4 separate regions of the Homo sapiens genome follow, and all the other regions are linked to region 1. Evidence: promoter capture Hi-C in human tissues and cell types (Jung and others, 2019). All regions are on one chromosome and are shown on one strand. The core of a region is centred on a gene start or on the middle of the fragment in contact, and the rest is flanking DNA. Distances in the headings are between cores, read along the strand shown. Region 1 holds the start of TAF13 (TATA-box binding protein associated factor 13). Region 2 holds the start of LOC105378891 (a long non-coding RNA gene). Region 3 overlaps STXBP3 (syntaxin binding protein 3). Region 4 overlaps PSMA5 (proteasome 20S subunit alpha 5).

The links. Contacts are between HindIII fragments. The study calls those that stand out against the background at their distance.
Region 2: a contact is called between a fragment that was not itself captured here and the fragment with the promoter of TAF13 in region 1, in 1 of the 25 tissues and cell types used here (dorsolateral prefrontal cortex).
Region 3: a contact is called between a fragment that was not itself captured here and the fragment with the promoter of TAF13 in region 1, in 2 of the 25 tissues and cell types used here (adrenal gland and pancreas).
Region 4: a contact is called between a fragment that was not itself captured here and the fragment with the promoter of TAF13 in region 1, in 1 of the 25 tissues and cell types used here (hippocampus).

Annotation. Positions count from the first base shown.
Region 1 is chr1:109,074,291-109,077,529 of GRCh38, forward strand. It overlaps TAF13 (TATA-box binding protein associated factor 13), which reads right to left and starts at 1,713. Exons shown (of 4, transcript NM_005645.4): 1 at 1,631-1,713; 2 at 697-775. The coding sequence starts at 1,657. RefSeq lists enhancers at 1-956, 1,561-1,620, 1,721-1,970. The HindIII fragment of the contact is 17,261 bases long and covers 1-3,239 here.
Region 2 is chr1:108,813,422-108,816,891 of GRCh38, forward strand. It overlaps AKNAD1 (AKNA domain containing 1), which reads right to left. Exons shown (of 16, transcript NM_152763.5): 16 at 2,480-2,881. The coding sequence ends at 2,750. LOC105378891 (a long non-coding RNA gene) reads left to right here and starts at 169. Exons shown (of 5, transcript XR_947687.3): 1 at 169-221. The HindIII fragment of the contact is 4,821 bases long and covers 1-3,470 here.
Region 3 is chr1:108,792,549-108,795,698 of GRCh38, forward strand. It overlaps STXBP3 (syntaxin binding protein 3), which reads left to right. Exons shown (of 19, transcript NM_007269.4): 12 at 1,034-1,099; 13 at 2,279-2,359. Among named protein-coding and RNA genes, the nearest start is that of STXBP3, 47 kb to the left of the region's middle. The HindIII fragment of the contact is 3,217 bases long and covers 1-3,150 here.
Region 4 is chr1:109,416,854-109,420,354 of GRCh38, forward strand. All of the region lies in intron 2 of PSMA5 (proteasome 20S subunit alpha 5), which reads right to left. Among named protein-coding and RNA genes, the nearest start is that of PSMA5, 7.8 kb to the right of the region's middle. The HindIII fragment of the contact is 7,328 bases long and covers 1-3,501 here.

The DNA.
Region 1 (3,239 bases), core at 463-2,962:
CTCTGAAACATGTGCTGTGTCCCCTCAGGGTTAAATGGATTAAGGGCGGTGCAAGATGTGCTTTGTTAAACAGATGCTTGAAGGCAGCATGCTCGTTAAGAGTCATCACCACTCCCTAATCTCAAGTACCCAGGGACACAAAACACTGAGGAAGGCCGCAGGGTCCTCTGCCTAGGAAAACCAGAGACCCTTGTTCACATGTTTATCTGCTGACCTTCTCTCCACTATTGTCCTATGACCCCGCCAAATACCCCTCTCTGAGAAACACCCAAGAATGATCAATAAATACTAAAAAAATTAAAAAAATAAAATAAAGCAAAATAAAAACACACAAAAAAAATTAGGTGGGCGTGGTGGCCGGCGCCAGTAGTCCCAGCTACTCAGGAGGCTGAGGCAGGAGAATGGCATGAACCCGGGAGGCGGAGCTTGCAGTGAGCAGAGATTGCGCCACTGCACTCCAGCCTGGGCGACAGAGCGAGACTCCGTCTCAAAAAAAAAAAAAAAGCAATTTATACACACACACACAATTGGGGTTAGGATTGGTACTATCTGATTCAAAAGTTAAACAGAATTTGATAGGCTAGTCTGAGAATATTATCCCTACAGGGAAACATTCAAAGCAATAAAGCTACTTTGAAAGGACATGTCCAAAAGTTTTCATCATCTATAACAAAATCATTGTCAAATACTACTTACATTCTTTAGAAAAAAGTCTCTTTCTTTTACCCTGTCCACCTTCTGCACCTCCTCCAATTTCTTCATTTTCTTCCTCAAACTAGAAGTTAAAATGTATATATAGAAATGTCAAATAATTGCCTTGCATTTGATATTTTAATAATGACATTTTTTTTTCCTTTTCAACAGATAGGCCAGAAAGCCAAAGGAAGCAGCAAAAAAAAAAACCACGAAACCTTAGCATTGAAGGAGCCTATGTATCTAGTCCAACTTCCAACTCATGCAAAAATGGCTTCTACAATGTTCCTAACTAATAATCCTACTGCTTCTACTTGTAAGAGTTCCAATGACCATAAGTTTTATTTTTAAACAACTAAGGTGGCCTATTACTACTGTTACTGTTAAACAGTTGATACTGAATCAAAGTCTACCTTTGTAGACTTTGTAGTAAGCAAAACTAATATTTCCTATGCATTTGCTTATACAGTGCTAAAAACGTTCCTTAAGTAAGCCCGTAACCCTATTTTATAAAAAGAAAACTGATGTTCAAAGTTAAATAACTTGCTCAGAGAGAATGGAAATTTTGAAATCCAGGCTGTCTGACTTTCAATGCATTCTTTTCCCATTACTTCACAGTAAGTACAGTTTTGTTAACAATTGAACTGTTGGCTCATAGTGCGCGCTAATAGATGTTAGTTTTGATCTCTGATGATTCTGTACGTGTTTCAGTGTCTGGCAAATACAGACCAAAATCAAGGGGAAAGGGGTCACAAAACCTACTCTTCCTTCATGTCCTTCCCCACTTTCTAAAATGATCAATCCTTAGGGCGTGAAGTCCCCGAACTCTGTCCGCTGAATTCACTAAGGCAAGCAGACCCGATCCTGAACTCTGCCTCCGCTACTGAGCCCGAAGGAGTGAAGAAAAGACAGGTTTTGGACAGAGACGGTCACTCACCGTGGGGTCTTCTTCCTCATCTGCCATCCCACTAGCACGCCAACTCACAGCGTCCTGCCGGCTGGCTCCCAGCTGGTTACACTACTTCCGCCGCCTCACTTCCGGTGACGCGCGGGGCCGTAGCTGGGCCTAGCCCTCTGCGGCCTGCGGGAGGACGGTGGTGCTTTCCGGCCTAGCGGCGGAAATGCGACAGTCTCTAAGGGAGGAGGCCGGAGCGCCTCCCTGTAATCCCGAAGGAATTGAAAACTAACAAAGAAAAGGAAATCACGGGCTAGGTCGCGAGTATCTCGTTGTCACCCTGAATTTGCTACTGCGTATTGAATCACAGCTTCTTGTTTGGGGACTGCGAAGCTATGGATCATAGGAGGGCAAGCCAGCAGTCCTTTATCAGACAAATATGCTTTTAAATCATTTTAAAGATTTGTAGTTCCACTGTTTCTAAGCACTGTGTTAATTATTGGGGATACTGTGCTTCATCACAAATTTCCAAGAGATGGTGTCCCGAGACTAAGCATTTAAAATTTTGTGAAGGTTTTTTGATTTTTTTTTTTTTTTTTTTTGAGACGAAGTCTCACTCTGTCGCCCAGGCTGAAGTGTGCAGTGGCGCGATCCCGGCCCACTGCAACCTCTGCCTCCCGGGCTCAAGTGATTCTCCTTCCTCAGCCTCCCGAGTAGCTGGGATTACAGGCGTGCGCCACCATGCCCGGCCTTATTTTTGTTTTTTTGAGACACAACCTCACTGTCCCCCGGGATGGAGTGAAGTGGCGCAATCAGGGTTCACTGCAGCCTAGACCTGCTGGGCTCAAGCCATCCTCCCACCTCAGCCTCCAAGTAGCTGGGATTACAGGCGCACACCACCAATGCCCAGCTAATTTTTGTATTTTTAGTAGAGATGGGGTTTCCCCACATTGCCCAGGCTGGTCTGGAACTCATGGCCTCAAGCGATCTGCCCCGCTCTGCCTCCCAAAGTGCTGGGATTACAAGTGTGAGCCACCGTGTCCACCGGGGAAGGCTTTTGGTCAGAACAATGGCTGGCAAAACCACAGGCATCGGAAGGCCAGAGCTAGGGATATAATATAAATGTCCCTACAGTGTAACAGATGATGCTACATAAAGAAAATCCCGTAATACACACGATTTCTGAATGTCCTGCTGAACATTCGGTGAGTGAAAACTAATTATCTGAGAGTTGAACCTATCTTTGTTAATAAACACAAAGCGGCCGGGCGCAGTGGCTCACGCCTGTAATCCCAGCACTTTGGGAGGCCGAGGTGGGCGGATCACAAAGTCAGGAGATCAAGACCATCCTGGCCAACATGATGAAACCCCGTCTCTATTAAAAGTACAAAAATTAGCTGGGCGTAGTGGCGCACGCCTGTAATCCCAGCTACTCGGGAGGCTGAGGCAGGAGAATCGCTTGAACCCGGGAGGCAGAGGTTGCAGTGAGCCGGGATTGTGCCACTGCACTCCAGCCTGGTGACAGAGCGGGACTCCACCTCAAAAAATAAAAATTAAAAAAATAAACACAAAGCATTTTCCCACACTTTTAATGTACGTTGAAGTTTCTAGGAATGTTATTACCCCAAAATTGAATAGTAATTGTATTTTG
Region 2 (3,470 bases), core at 507-3,006, 260 kb before region 1:
GGAGTAAATACTGAGAGGCCTGTGCACCCTGGAGACTGCCAGGTGTTTCTTTACAGCCCTCAGGCAATGCTGAGTCCCTTGATGCCAGCATTAGGGGTACCATTACTTTTACTTCACAAGCTTGTTTTTCTGGTTTATTACTCGAACAGAATTAGAAGAGAGGTCATTAGAATTGACACAAGAATTGCATGAGGGAGGAGATGGCCAAGACTACAGGATCAGTAAGTATAAAATTATCCTTGTAAATCAGAGCCTAGTGTCTTTGTGGAACTCCTTAAGGGCATTGCCTGCCCTTTTTTGCTATTTCTTAGATTAGTCGTGTTGCAGTGATTGCTCATAATGACCCCTAATCTTCAAGGAAATGGAAAATTACATTTAGAATATGGTTTGATAAAGCAGAAATGGGCCATATTTTTAAATCAAAAATGATTATAATTACCAATTTCTATAAATGTTAATTTGAGGGATTTAGAAATATTCGTTAATGGTAGACGTTTCTAACCAAGGTTCCATGGATTTGTTTCATGGTGTCCACGAACTTTTAAAAATGAATGTATTCTTTTCCACGAGAAGGCAGAGCATGGGGGAAGGGAGACTCCATAGCTTTCACCAGATTCCCAAAAAATGAGCCCAAAAAAGGTTAAGAACTAATGAATCATATAAGAACACTTCAAGCCAGAGAAGTATATGATTTTAAACTTGGGGATGAGATAGTGGTACTAACATACAAAACAGATTAGCAAGTTGTGATTAAATTTAGATATGTGATGATACTGGAAGCCTCTTGGAACTGCCAAAAACCAAAATGTCAACAAATTAAGTCTAATGACCTAATTGGCTTTTATTAGCAATTTATGAATCAGGCAGCATCCTATCTATGAAATAGAAAGGCTGAGCACAGGAGTGGGCTTTATAGGCAGAAAAAAACAGAAGAAAATGGAAACAAGGAACAAAAGGTGTCTTTATATGGGTTAAAGCAGAGGGGACTTCCTTATGCCAGCTCAGGTTGACGGGGCCCCTTCTAATGGGATACTGTGAATGTTCTGGGTCTTTTTTTTTTCTTTTAAACTGACCTATTTTAAAGTTCAGTTTGATTACGTGGCACCTAGCATGAGTGACTCCATTCTAGTTTGGTCTGGTCTGTTGGGGTCCCCTGTAGGAGCTTAGTCCAAAAAAATGACCTCCCATAAGTTTTATTTAATAGAACATACACAGTTTAAGCTCTGTTTTTTCTAATACCAGCCATGGTTCCTTGCTATCTTCCTTACAGTGCCACAGCCTGAAGTAAATTTGGCCATAAAGTCAGAGGTATTTTCAGACTGACCTGTGCATTATCTCTTCCAGGGCACCCTAAACCAATTTACAAACCCCAAAGTTAAAAACAGTCCATTCTCCAGCCAGCTAGACGAATACCAGCTGCTCACATTGGCACGAAAATCTAAAGTGGGAATAGATTCAACTCCCTCCTGACCACTGAGCCAAACTCTGGGAGTTGGGAAACCATTTGTTGAATGTCTAGGGTGAATGAAAATCAGAAGTTTCAGGGAAGGGGGAAAGAGCCAATACCCTGCTGTGCTGTCACTAAGGAGGTAATAAATCACTCTTAAAGAAGGAAAGCAAAAGCTTGATCTGGAAGGAAAAAAAAAAAAGCCTGCTCTGGTCTGCATGAAAATGTACTTAATCTCTGGTACACAGTTTTAATGAATTGTCTTTTCCAAAATTTCATTAAGGCTATTATTTTCACATATTTCTGACTTCAAGCGATCTTTAAACAAATAATTTTGACTTATAAGTATATTGTGAGAATTTCATATAGTACAGAAAAGAAGGTAAAAACCCCTTTCTCCCCCAAAACTCCCAGTTTCCTTTACTAGAGGTTCACTTCAGATTTTTAGGTATCTTTCCTGAAAATACGTATGCCCTTTTAAAAAAAATACACAAATGAAGAGCCAGGCACATTGGTGTGTGCCTGTAGTCCCAGCCACTCAGTAGGCTAAGGCGGGAGGATTGCTTGAAGTTCAAGTCCAGCCTGGGCAACATAGAAAGACCCCAGAGGTTACAACTCTCTATATATATGCTTAGGCATCTTGCTTCTTTCACTGACTTTTGCAGATAATCCAACCTCATTCTTTTCGGTGGCCACAAAGTATTGTCATTTATGAATCATCACAGGGGGTATTTAGATTAGTTCCCCCTTGGGGTTGTTACCATCAGTGCTCCAGTGCCCTTCCCTGTACATATATCATGCCACATTGTGTGGCTTATATGTAAAAGAAATTCCTAGAAGTGGAATTGCTGCTCTGAAGGTACATGATTTGGAATTTGTGGAACTTGGTAGATATTACCAAATAGTCTTCCAAAAAGGTTGCATTTCTGCCAACAGCATATGAGAGTACCAGTTTCCCTCCATCCTCACTGACACAGGGTTTCTTCAAACTTTAATCTTTTTTCAGACTAATAGATAAAAGGAAATTCATTGTTTTGTTTTGATTTCTTTTATTATGAGTTAAGAAGAACATAGATTTATTTTAAAATAAATACTTGTTGGTTGCTTTTGATTTTAAGAATCAGAAGTCCTTTCTTTTTTCTTTTTCCTTTAAGTACTTTGTGTTACCCATTTCTTATGGTTTCTGTGTTTTCTCTAGAAAGTCATCTTCCTAAATTGTGTAGTAAGTAAAATACATTTTGGGGGAAGATCAAGTTTTCTTTGCATTTTTTTCTTTTGAATCCTTGGTAGCCTAGCGTTGAACTAGTATTTCAGTCGATTCCTCCACCTCTGTGCTTTAGCAAGGTCTTCTGCAATCGTTTTAATCATTTGATCTGTAGTTTCTTTCAAAATGGTTGCTGTCCTTAGGGCATGATCCAAAGCCGAGTTTAAAATCTACAGAGGAAAAGTCCACACATTTTAATTACATAAACTAACTGCTGTTTCTGTTCTTTGGGTTCTCTCATTATTAAACATTACAAGGTGGAATTTGGGGAGTATTCCTGTTTTCCTCTTGGTCTATTTCTGTTTTTGAGGGTTGGTTTCCTAGGAGACCAGTCTGAGATGGAATATATTTGTTAGGGAAAGGGATTGAAAAAAAGACCAGCACGTGACTGATGAGCATGAATCAGAGGGTGAGGTCAGCCGCCAGCTGGGCTGTTTCCCTGCCGCAGAGAAAGAGAAAAAAAGAACAGCTCTTAGAGGCCATTGATGGGGATTGGGGGGCCATAACCACTGAGAGGGTATTCAGGGATACAGCGCATGCGTATGGAAACATTTGAAAGTGGCCTGGGGATTCGAGTTAGTGATTTGAAATAGGAAACTGTTGGCAACTCTGATCACAGTGTCACTGGAACAGACCCAGTGCCTTCAACCCCCGGCCAGGGAAATCCTGTAGCTGAGGCACCACCCACAAATCACTTTCTCCAGGAAATTTCCCTTGGAACCAATTTAGAATAATACAAACCTTGCGACTGCTGAGGCT
Region 3 (3,150 bases), core at 298-2,797, 280 kb before region 1:
ACAAAATATATGTTAACTATAGCCATCATTGTGATATCAAACACTAGAACTTATTCCTTATCTTGGGTCTACTTTTATTGACTGTTTTGTCACTTGAGTATCAATCACTTTCCTGTTTCACCTATTAATGTTTTATTGTGCTAGACATGGTGGATGATACATTGCAGAGGTTCTAGATGATGCTGTCTCTACACAGAATGTTGAGTTTTGTTCTGGCAGGCAGTTAAGTTGCTGAGGAATAATCGTGATTCTGTTGTAACTTCATGTTAGACAATGTTATGGTAAATTTATTTCACTTTTGCACTGAGTCCTAAGGCATAGTCCCAGGACTGAATGTGTAGGATGTTCACTTAGGTCTCTTTACTTTGTCTAGATCAGGAGATGCTAGTATATTCTTAGCACTAAGACCCCTCTGAAATCTTGTCCAACATTTAGCCACCCAGAAGTTGTTCTTTACTACACCTTTGAGGGTTATGCCCTGTACATGTGCAGCTTAGGGGTTCAAGGACAATCTCTTTACACATTTTTGGGTTATGTTCTGTCTAGCTCCTTTCTTTTTAGCACTCTGCTTCCCAAAATCTACCTCACAGCCCCAAGCTCTTATCTCCATTTTTTTTTTTTTTTTTTTTTTTTTTGCACCCAGGGAGATAATTGCTCTCTACTTGAACTGTATTTCCTTTCAGTGGTGTTTGGAAAACATCTTTAGGGAAAGGAAGGGTGCGTGCAGGGATCACCTTTGGTGCTTTCCTTCACTCAGCTGTCTCAGCTGTGAGCTATTTTTATCCATTACTTGAAAGCTATTGTTTTATTTATTTGTCCAATCTTATTTATTTATGAAGGGAGAGTAATGTTGATATCAGCTACGTTATTGTGAGTGAAACTGGAAGCCTCCTAAATTCTTCTTTCAAAAAAATTGTCAAATATTCAGTAAATTAACTAGATTTGATAATTTGTAAAACTCTAGGATTTCAAAGTTGTAATATGGAATAACTGAATCATAGGCTTGCCTAAAAAAATGTTTGATTTTTCCTAGACATCACTTAGTGCTCTTACCCAGCTGATGAAAAAGATGCCCCATTTCCGAAAACAGATTACTAAGGTAAGCAGTATTGTATATGAGATACCTGATTAGTTTTAGTTTATATTCAGTTTATATTCAGTTCTGTAGTTCGATTTAGCAGTGGGTTTCGTGGAATACTTGGTGTTATTTGTCCTCTAAAACCTTACTATAGGTCTGAGAGATATCCCATATATCTAAGCTTCTTCATAACTTCTCTATATGTATAACCTAGATTTATCTGAATCCAGCTTAAAGTTTCTATATCTTTGTCTTGAATAGCCTAACAGAGTCACATTTATCAACCTTACAAGAAATTCAGCACTAGATTGACTAGTGGATGTTATTCTACATGTTTCTTTAAAGTAATAGTTACTTACTAGTAGATTTAAGAGCATTTAAGCTGTTTAGTCAGGTAAACTATTTTTTTGCTCCTTAAAAACACTATCAGAATAATCTTAACATTTTTGTCATGTTGCACCCTAGTCAACCAATGATTTTTGTGTGTGTTAAAATACTTGAAACATTTAGAAAGATAAATAGAATATGAACTTGAAGAACTTCTGGGTATTTTTCTCATGTTATTTTTCATTACTGTCAAACTCAACACAAATTCAACAATTCAATGCTTCCATCCCATTTATGCTGTCTGTTGATTGCCTCCTGTTGTATTAGTCTGTTCTCACATTGCTGTAAGGAAATACCCAGGACTGGGTAATTTATAAAGGAAAGCGGTCTAATTGACTCACAGATCTACATGGCTGGGAAGGCCTTAGGAAACTTACAGTCATGGCAGAAAGCAAAGGGGAAGCCAGGCACCTTCTTCACAAAGCTACAGGAGGGAGAAGTACAAGCAGGGCACATGCCAGACACTTGTAAAACCATCAGATCTCATGAGAACTCACTTACTATTATGAGAACAGCATGGGGAAAATCACTCCCATCATCCCATGTTCCAAACACTTCCCATCAGGTCCCTCCCACAACACATGGGGATTATGGGAACTACAAGATGAGATTTAGGTGGGGACATAGCCAAACCATTTCACCTGTAAATCACCTTCTCATTTACTTCCTTTCTTGAGCTGTTCCCTTGCTTACATGTTACCTTCTTTCACCTCAGCCCATACTTTCTTTCAGGCCTGTCTCAAAAGTTTAATATTACCAGTTGCACAAAAGTCATTAAAATCCTTTAAATGATTGATTTCTTCTGTTTTTCAGCAAGTTGTCCATCTTAACTTAGCAGAAGATTGCATGAATAAGTTCAAGCTTAATATAGAAAAGCTCTGCAAAACTGAACAGGTATGTGCAGAGTCAGAAATGCCTCTGTTCATAACAAATTTCAAGGATAAACTTTGTAAGTTAAAACCTAACTTTTTGCTTGATACAGTGGTTGGTTTTTACAGAATCACAGACTCTCTCTTATCAGGGGAGCCACCTAGGCAGTATTTAATGTCATTCCCCGCTAACATTAACAAGTAGCTGTAGAGTATCTTAGTAAACAGTCCCTCCTAATATATTATATATTTTTTGTTTAATGGAATGATTTAAATTTTGGGAGCATGATTTCAGGGTGGCATTATTGGCAGGACCTTCTCAGTACGGGATTTAATATAGCATCCAGCAGAGCTCATTTTACAAGGGGCCTTTTATATCATGCCTCAACTGTTTAGACCATTGCCCCTCATAGAATACAAGCTGCATGTAATTTTAATTATTCTAATAGCCATGTTAATGCAGGTAAAAATTAAAAAGTGCAATTAATTTTACGAATAAGTTGGGTGCAGTGGTGTGTGCTTATAGTCCCAGCTATTCAGGAGGCTGAGGTGGGAGGATTGCTTGATCCCAGGAGTTTGAGGGCAGCCTGGGCAAGACCCTGTCTCTTTAAAAAAAAAAAAGAAAAAAAAAACTTTGACAACCTGATGTATTCAAAATATTATTTCAACATATAATCAGTATAAAAAGTTATTAATTAGATAATTTTGCATTGTATTACTTCAAGTCTCCTGGTGTTTTGTACCTACAGCACATCTTAATTCAGACTGATCCCATTTCAAGTGTTCAGTAGTCATATGTGGCTAGTGGCCACAGTA
Region 4 (3,501 bases), core at 305-2,804, 340 kb after region 1:
CAGCACTTTGGGAGGCTGAGGTGGGCAGATTGCATGAGTCCAGGAGTTCAAGACCAGCCTGGGCAACATGGTGAAACCCTGTTTCTATAAAAAATACAATAATTAGCCAGGCTTGGTGGCGTATGCCTGTACTCCCAGCTACGCGGAAGGCTGAAACGGTAGGACTGCTTGAGCCCGGGAGGCAGAGGTTGTAGTGAGCCAAGATCACGCCATTGCATTCCAGCCTGGACAACAGAGTGAGACCCCATCTCAAAAAATAAATAAATAAAAATGAATGCTCATATTTCTAGTTAAAGGTGCAGACTAAAGACATAACATTAGTTCCACGCCTTCCTTAAGTCTATTGATGTAAGATTAAAGGACTTCTAAAAAGGCATAAATCCACTATAACAGAGAGTGGGAGAAGACACAGCAACAAAACTTTGAAGCTAAAAAGAAGATAGGTTAGTGATACCTGGGTAATCCAAATCCTAAACCAGCCGTAAAGAAAGTAAAGAAACAACCTGATTTTTATCACAGGACCTCAAAAAAGGAAATGGTGGCAACAAGGACCTCTGGAAATGGAAATGAACAAGGAGCTAAAAATTGCAAGGTGGTTCAATGTTTAAGAAACAGATTCCCGGATCCCCTCCCCTATGCTGTAAAGCTAGACGACTGCACCTCCCCCACTCCCGTGGAAGACTCCAGGCTTATTCTCTGGAGACCGTAAAATAGAGCGTCTTTGGATTGGGGACACCAAGCACAGTCTAAGGCAGGAATAATGTACTGAAAACGGGATAAATATGTAAAAATTTCCAAACCAAATGTTAAGAACCTCAGCCTTCTTTCCCTACTCAGCTCTCAGAAGCCAGCAGCCAGAAATACCCTCCCGGAATGAAATGAGAAGAGGCAGTTTTCTCCTGAGCAATGTTTTTCAAACTTTTTGACCAAAAGCCACAGTAAGGAATACATTTGATTTCATAACTAAAACCCACAAATAAATATAAATACATAACAGAAACAAAATTTCAGGAAAAAAACCACTCATCACTACTATGGGCAAGGCATTTTGATATCTACTGCTCTGTTTCACTTAAAAAAGAAATGTGGGCCAGGAGTGGTGGCTCATGCCTATAATCACAACACTTTGGGAGGCTGAGGCAGGAAGATCACTTGAGCCCAGGAGTTTGAGACCAGCCTGGGCAACATGGCAAAACTTTACCTCCACAAAAAATAAAAAAAAATAACTGGGTGTGGTGGCATGTGCCTGTAGCTGGGGGCTGAGGTGGGAGGATCACTTGAGCCTGGGAGGTTGAGGCTGCAGTGAGCTGTGATCGTACCACTGCACTCCAGTCTAGGTGACAGAGTGACATTCTGTCTCAAAAGAAATGCTCCTCATGACCACTAAATTTATTTTATTATCTCCTAATAGGTCTAGACCTGCAGTTTGAAAAACATAGCTCTAAACAATCTGACCAGTTCAAAAGGAAAAAAAAATATTTTAGACAGGGTCTCACTCTGTTGCCCACGATGGAGTGCAGTGGCACAATCACGTCTCATGGAGCCCCAACCTCCCAGGCTCACGAGATCTTCCCACCTAAGCCTGCAAAATAGCTAAGACTACAGGTGTACACTACTACACTCAACTAATTTTTTAAATTTTTTGTGAAGACAAAGTCTCACTATGTTGCTCAGGCTGGTCTTGAACTTCTAGACTCAAGCAGTCCTCCTGCCTCAGCGTCCCAAAGTGCTAGGATTACAGGTGTGAGCCTTGCCCAGCCTAATTTTTTAAATTTTTTCTAGACACGGGCTATGTTGCCCAGGCTAGTCTTGAACTCCTAGGCTCAAGTGATTCTCCTCCCTCAGCCTCCCAAAGTACTGAGATTATAGGGATGAGCAACAATGTCCACAAGGAAAAAAATTTTCAAGAAAAATTAGAAAATTGTTGAAGAAAAACAAGACATTTCATCCATAAAACAAGAACGGGATGCTAATAAGAAGAAAAGAAACAAAAGAAGTTGAAAATTAAAAATTATTTCTGGCCAAACACGGTGGCTCATGCCTATAATCCCAGCAATTTGGGAGGGTGAGGCGGGCAGATCACCTGAGGTCAGGAGCTCAAGACTAGCCTGACCAACATGGACAAACCCCGTCTCTACTAAAAATGCAAAATTAGCCAGCGTGGTGGCGCATGCCTGTAATCCCAGCTACTCAGGAGGCTGAGGCAGGAGAATCGCTTGAACACGGGAGGCGGAGGTTGCAGTGAGCCGAGATCACGCCATTGCACTCCAGCCTGGGCAACAAGAGCAAAACTCCACCTCAAAATAAATAAATAAATAAATAGTTTCTACAATACTACTGGAAAATGGGTTCTACCAAATTGAGCAAATAAATCAAAAAAGATGACATGGGGCCTTACACAAGAGGGAGTTAAAGGGAATGCCTAGAATGATCTCACAGAAAATGAAGTCCACAGGTACACAGGAGGCCCAGAGAACAACCAGTCCAGACTGGAGCAGATTAGAAGGCTCCAAGATTTCATTAAGAATCCTTAATAGGGCACTGTGGCTCATACCTGTAATTCCAACACTTTGGGAGGCCTAGGTGGGCGGATCACTTGAGCTCAGGAGCTCGAGACCAGCCTGTGCAACACAGCGAAACCCCGTCTCTACAAAAAATACAAAAACTTAGGCCAGGCGCGGTGGCTCACATCTGTAATCCCAGCACTCTGGGAGGCAGAGGCAGGTGGATCACAGGGTCAGGAGTTCGAGACCAGCCTGACCGATATGGTGAAACACCATCTCTACTAAAAATACAAAAATTAGGTGTGGTGGCACGCGCCTGTAATCCCAGCTATTCAGGAGGCTGAGGCAGGAGAATTGCTTGAACCTGGGAGGCAGAGGTTGCAGTGGGCTGAGATAGCGCCACTGCACTCCAGCCTGGGTGAGAGAGTGAGACTCCGTCTCAAAAAAAAAAAAAAAAAAAAAAAAAACAAGCCGCGCATGGTTGTGCATAGCTGTAGTCCCGGCTACTTTGGGGGCTGAGGCGGGAGGATCACTTGAGCCTGGTAGGTTGAGGCTGCAGTGACCTGAGATGCGCCACTGCATTCTAGCCTGGGTGACAGAGCAAGACTCTGTCTCAAAAAAAAAAAAAAAAAGGAATCCTTAATAGGACACTTAATTTGCCTGAATGTTTTGAGAGGATACATGTAACCTGGAGAGACTTTGGAATGCATTATTGATCATCCTAAATTAAGCAAATATTTTTAAAAAGAGAATTATTAACTCCAAGAAAAACAATGTTGTGCAGAAACAGAAAAATAATTATAAAATGCAAAATGGCTCAGCTGTGAAAAGCATTTAGTTATACTAATGTAACTATTGACTAATGATCTTACAAAATTATGATATTCATGATATATATGGAGAGGGTCACCCTATCCCCACCTCAGAAGACAATTGTGTGTGGTGGGGAGTAGGGGTGTGGGGTTAGGGCAGAAATCTTCATCTTTCATAATGAAAA